2 separate regions of the Homo sapiens genome follow, and region 2 is linked to region 1. The links are contacts of gene promoters, found by promoter capture Hi-C in blood cells and fetal thymus (Javierre and others, 2016). All regions are on one chromosome and are shown on one strand. The core of a region is centred on a gene start or on the middle of the fragment in contact, and the rest is flanking DNA. Distances in the headings are between cores, read along the strand shown.

Evidence for each region. Contacts are between HindIII fragments. The CHiCAGO score rates a contact against its expected background, and 5 or more counts as called.
Region 2: the fragment with the promoter of PLPP1 here is called in contact with a fragment that was not itself captured in region 1 in 1 of 17 cell types (fetal thymus); the score reaches 6.3 in fetal thymus.

Annotation. Positions count from the first base shown.
Region 1 is chr5:56,825,064-56,828,296 of GRCh38, reverse strand. The region is part of intron 1 of MAP3K1 (mitogen-activated protein kinase kinase kinase 1); the gene reads right to left. Among named protein-coding and RNA genes, the nearest start is that of MAP3K1, 11 kb to the right of the region's middle. RefSeq lists an enhancer at 2,423-2,933. The HindIII fragment of the contact is 3,904 bases long and covers 1-3,233 here.
Region 2 is chr5:55,533,608-55,536,575 of GRCh38, reverse strand. PLPP1 (phospholipid phosphatase 1) reads left to right here and starts at 1,612. Exons shown (of 6, transcript NM_003711.4): 1 at 1,612-2,004. The coding sequence starts at 1,947. It also overlaps the pseudogene RNF138P1. RefSeq lists an enhancer at 1,090-1,159 and a silencer at 1,390-2,029. The HindIII fragment of the contact is 4,109 bases long and covers 441-2,968 here.

The sequences.
Region 1 (3,233 bases), core at 465-2,964:
GGTCACAGAGATAAGAACCCTGAGGAGATGCTTTATCCCATATCACAGAATTTTGAAAGTTGCCATTTTCTATTTTTCTAGTAAATCATTTCAAAATAACAGGGGAAAATGTATTGTTATCAAGATGATGTATTATCTACACAAACCGCCTTTGCTAACCTAGTGATAAGTAGCACAGCAACCTTGGGGGAGGCTCTTAACCTCATTCTAAAAGGTTAAAGGTTTAAGTAGTGAGCATAGACAGTTACTTGCAAGAGTATTATCTACAGTTAGTATTAACTGAATACTTTTCTGGATCAAGAATGGTGCTTCATTATACCACCAACGACCCCATTTTAGAGACAAGAAATTCAAGGTTCAGAGAAGTGACTTCCCTGGGGTCCAAGTAGCTAACAGGTCTAATTCCTAGGGCCCAGGTTCTTTTTTTTTTTTGAGATGGAGTTTTCGTCATGTCACCCAGGCTGGAGAGCAGTGGCGCGATCTCAGCTCACTGCAACCTCTGCCTTCCAGTTTCAAGTGATTCTCCTGCCTCAGCCTCCCAAGAAGCTGGGATTACAGGCACACACCACCAAGCCCGGCTAATTTTTGTATTTTTAGTAGAGACGGGGTTTCACCATGTTGGCCTGGCTGGTCTCGAACTCCTGACTTCAGGTGATCCACCCGCCTCAGCCTCCCAAAGTACTGGGATTACGGGCGTGAGCCACGGCACCCAGCAAGGCCCAGGTTCTTAATCACTACAGTGCATGGTCTCTGAAATGGAAACATGTAGTTCCAAAACCACATTCAGGACCACAGTGGATGGAATTCATTTTGCCATGAGAACACTTCCCAATCTGTGAACCTCTGAAACTACATGGAGCTACTGAAGTACAAAAGCCACAGCTCCCAGATTTGTGACCCCAGACTGTCTTGTCCCAGCTCTGATGTAAATCCTTCTTGGGGCCTCCTGACCCACTTCCTAACACTCTGTGGTTACCTGTCAAATTACAAAGGCTTTTTTATTTTGTCCTAAGCGCTGAGATTCAAGGATTGGCCAGTGGGGGCAATACGAGGCAGAGAGCTCTGCGTGGCTCTCTCTCTGGCCAGAGCCAGAAATCGTGTCCCAGCTTGGTCCCTGGACCCTGCCTCCACTCTGGCCGAGTTACCTGAACTACACTTGCAGTCCTCCATGCCATCCTAAGACTGCTGATTTCTGGGCCTGTGTGTTCTCCACCCACCCCTAGGCCACAAAACCTCCTTGCAAGTTCCTTTCACCTGGTTCATTCCTCCACGTTTATCGGGACTTGGCTTGGTGCTCCACCTCACATTTCCCAAAAAAGCCTCCTGATGCCTCCCCGACTCACAGTGGACGGGGGCCTGCACTGTCTGTCATCAGGTAAGCTCCTCCACAGGCAAGTGATGGAGACTTCCCTCCTGCTGTGTCCCCAGCACCTTGGTGCCTGGCTGGCAGCTCTGAGTGTTTCTTGAAGGCATGGACATCTCCTCAGGAGTGACAGCAGGACTGAAGACACATGCTCTAGCATGCTTACTCATCTGCCCTTTCATTTCTCAGGAAAGAACATCCATTGATCCCACAAAAAGGGATGTGAGTGACCTGCACATCTAACGTGCTTGCTCACCTACAACCTGTCAGCTTGCTGGGACCCTGTCTGTGGAGGTCCAGCAGCTGACATAAATCTTGTGATGCTTACATCGTCATCAAGCTCTCTGCTTGAAGTATCTGAGCACATCTGTTGTCTGACCTGTGAAGGTCTCGGATTATTCTCAAGGACAGTAATATGTAGGTTGGCAGCAACATTTTTTCCCTGAGACCACATCTCTGAGCTTTTAACACAAAATAAGAAAATCTGATTCACTTTACAATAATGTGTGCTTTACAAACATCTCTTTGTGAACACTGTCGTTCAGAAAGACCTGACTACATGTACAATGATAGAGAAAAAAACTAAAAAGGCTTAAAAGTAGCAAATCTAACTCAGATATCGAGGAACTTGTTAAACCAGAGCTCGGCAGAATTCACAGTACAGCACTGATTTCTACAAAGCCACATTTATTTTTTAGTGGAATACCAATAATTCTTTATTGCAAAGAGAATAAAAACAAAACAAACAAAACCTCACCACGGAGCTGGAAAGAGTATTCTAGATAGAGGTAAGAGCATTGGGCACGCCGAGAAAGAAGGGTGATCAGCTGCAGGACAGAGCTGGAATTCAGCTGGTCAACAGTCCAACCAGAGAAGCCATTTCAAATGCCTTATCTATGTATTCATGCCAATACTTCTTATAAAATAAATTTTTAAATAAAAATTGTTTTCTTTAAAAAAAAAAAAGAAGAACGGTCAGTTGAGGGACTAAAACTGAGCACGATGCTGAAATGACGGGAGCAGACCATTCTGAGGGGCTGCTGAAAGTGAGCAGAAGCCTGAGTCCTAAGGGTTTCTGAACTGCATTATGGAGTCTGGACTTCATTCTGAGGGTGAAGAAAAGGTTGACAGTGGGTTGACAGTGGCCTGACCCTGGGTTAGCAGTCATGGCAGTGGAGGAAGTTGGATGGATTCTCAGGCTACTAGGAGAGTGGCAATAACAAGAACTGGTGACTGATTGGAAGCTGAAGGTGTGAAAGCCAGAAGAGTAAGAGCACAGCAATTAAAGAGACAATGGCAGTGTTTACCCTGATGGGCACCCTAAACCACATGGAGATCTGAATGCAAGGATGAAGAGGCTGAGCAGGGCAGAGATGCAGCCTGGACATGTGACTGCCACAGTGCCTGGCAGAGGGGTCCCTCCTGGAGGAACTATCCTGGAGAAAGTTGTATGCAGGATTCTGTCACAAAAGCCAAGATGTCTTAGGCACCACAGTATCAATGAGTCAGCAAAGATACGGCTGATAATCTCTTAACAAATCCTTTTCTTCCTGGTTAAAGACTAGCTTTCCTTCAATCTTTGTACAAAACTTGAAATTTGGTTATTTAAGAATCTAGACCTGGCCGGGCATGGTGGCTCACACCTGTAATCTCAGCACTTTGGGAAGCTGAGGCGGGTGGATTACCTGAGGTCAGGAGTTCAAGACCAGCCTGGCCAACATGGTGAAACCCTGTCTCTACTAAAAATACAAAAATTTAAAAAGTTGGAAGTGGTGGCAGGCGCCTGTAATCCCAGCTACTCAAGAGGCTGAGGCAGGAGAATTGCCTGAACCTGGGAGGCGGAGGTTGTGGTGAACCAAGATTGTGCCAT
Region 2 (2,968 bases), core at 363-2,862, 1.3 Mb after region 1:
CTTGCAATCTGAGGCCCTTGTAACTCTGGAAGTAAAGAAAGCTACATGATAAACAATGGCACATCTTTCTCAGGTGTAAATTGCTTAAAGCTTTTACGGCTATTTAAACAAGAGGCAAAATAAAACATTAGCATTCGTTTTAAAGAAAAACATCTTTCTTCAAATGTATATTTTGTTTTTGAGAGCTTACTTGGGGCTGTATCTCCAGACTCTGTTTAATGTTATCTTTCCATTGGCTTTATGAGTGCTTTGCAGGATAAGTCGAAGAAGTAGTAGGCACATTTTGTGATTTGTGTTTTACATATTTAAAGAGAAAATATACCAATCATTAACATCTGTAGACGGTTTAACTCTAGATAAAGCCACTATCATATAATCTTTTCTGGGTTTCACTTCTTCCTCCAGACTGGAACACTGGGCAGCTTAAAGCTGTAAAAGCTTTAAGCAATTTACACCTGAGAAAGATGGGCCATTGTTTATCATGTGGCTTTCTTTACTTCCAGAGTTACAAGGGCCTCAGATTGCAAGGTCACAATAAATTCAAAGTACTTGTGATGTCTGAGTATTAGGTATTTATTTAAAAAATCCCCATTTTACATATTAGGAAACTGAGATTACTAAATGTGGGCTAGGGTCCTCCTGGGTATGGGGCAGGGGGAGTGCTTGCTGCTGTTAAAGAAAATTATCCTGACACTTGTCAAACACATGAATAATTTATTCAAGATTATTACAATAAGGGTCATGACTATTGGAACAGGAGAGAGAAATTGAGCTCAACTCAGAATACAGCAAAGACAGCAGGGGATTTATAGCCAAGGAACAGGCACCGTGTCTGTGAGGGAGGTGACGGTGGATGGAAAATTACTAAGAGGAGACATCAAGGGTAGAGGGATTCTGGCTAAAGGCAGGTCAAGGGCTTCTACAACAAAGGTGTAATATAAGGAATCTAATCCGATATTAAATATCAAGAATTCAACGGTGATCAGGTATCGAGGATGGATGATTTAGCATGCTTCTTGCTAACATTTGGGCTCAGCCAGGACACAGGGAGGTCAACGTTGAGGCCTAAGTGAGAAAGGGCTCAGAGGTACCAAACTAAAGGAGAGCGTCTCTGTTCCTGCCTACTCTGACCTCTTTTCCCCCCTTAAACTCAGTGGTAACAATCTGACCTGTTTATTACCTCATCCCCATGGAAGGGGTGGGGAGTGGCAGGCAGCCGGTGCTCTAGGATCGTTGGGTAGGGAGCCTAGCTCTCTGAAAGCAGCAATGCCTAGTGGGGGTACCGAGGCCGAGTTCGGAGACCACCTGAGCAATTGCGGTCCAGAGCAAAGCCCCCTGGATCGGAACGGGAGCCGCCCCCACGCCCCGCCCGGCTGCCGAGAGCCGCACTTCTGGGCGGATGCCGCAGGTCGGGAGGGATGAGGCCGACGGCGCTGATTGGCTGACCGCCGCGGCCTGGGGTTTCCCTGGCCCCGCCCCTGCTGCACTCCCCCCGCCCGCGAACCCGCGCGCTGCCCGGTCCTGCGCTGCTCAGCGGGAGGGGCTGGACCCCGCGTTCCTCCTCCCTGCCGGTCCCCATCCTTAAAGCGAGAGTCTGGACGCCCCGCCTGTGGGAGAGAGCGCCGGGATCCGGACGGGGAGCAACCGGGGCAGGCCGTGCCGGCTGAGGAGGTCCTGAGGCTACAGAGCTGCCGCGGCTGGCACACGAGCGCCTCGGCACTAACCGAGTGTTCGCGGGGGCTGTGAGGGGAGGGCCCCGGGCGCCATTGCTGGCGGTGGGAGCGCCGCCCGGTCTCAGCCCGCCCTCGGCTGCTCTCCTCCTCCGGCTGGGAGGGGCCGTAGCTCGGGGCCGTCGCCAGCCCCGGCCCGGGCTCGAGAATCAAGGGCCTCGGCCGCCGTCCCGCAGCTCAGTCCATCGCCCTTGCCGGGCAGCCCGGGCAGAGACCATGTTTGACAAGACGCGGCTGCCGTACGTGGCCCTCGATGTGCTCTGCGTGTTGCTGGGTACGTACGCGCCGCCGGGTCCGAGGGGCGTGTGCGGCTGTCCCGGGAGGGCTTTAGCGCAGAGCCGCGACGGGCAGCGGGGGTGTGTTGCCTGACGCGTGCGCAGCTGTGGGGCGACACACGGGGGCGGCTTCTGCAGCCGAGGGACCCCGCTTTGCAGCCTGCACCCCGGCTCCCGCGTGCCCGCCGCTGTCTGTCGCCCGCCGGTGCGATGAGCCCAGCCCTGCTTGGACGCTGTTCACGCCTCTGCGCTCCATACCTTGCTCCTGTCCTCTGTTTGCAGTTCCACTCTAGCAGAGCAGGGTGGGCTCCTCCCCTCTGTACGGTAGAGGAGCCTGGTCACTGGCCCATCTCAGTAGTGAAACTGGAGGTTTGATGCACAGGGGATTCTCAGTAGCAGGCGCCAGTGCCTGATTTATCGTGAGAAGCAGTTTAATATTTCGGCTATAAAAGGCTAGAACTAGTTCCTAATTAGAAGGTGTGCCAGGTTGTAAATTGTCAGGTTGCAAGTAGGGATGAGCACGCCAAGTTTTTGCGTATAGGTCTAAAGAAGTTTTGGGGGTGGGGGAGGATGCGGTACCCCAGACCTGTTTCCTTGTCTGCCCAGACCTTGCCATGGTGTAGCTTTCCATCTCTTGTGACAGTGTCTCAAGGAGCAGTAGACATTCTTTGGCTGCAGCAGATTTCGCATTGTCTTCCTGATTGGAAGAGTTCAGTTATGAGGCTTCTGGTTGCCAGTTACTCCTTTCTTTTGAAGAGAAAGAACTGGAATCATTTGGATAAGGGATGGGCGTTGGAAGGAGTAGTTTTCACTTTTTATGTATTGTATAAGGCAGTTATGCTGTGAACTATTTATATATGATGGAATAAACAAAAACAAAGCAAGAGCTGCTGGAGGTTTGGATAGTCCTACTCATGTTGAAGTAATCAGAATAGTAGTAGTATTGGCAAGTTCTCAGGGTGG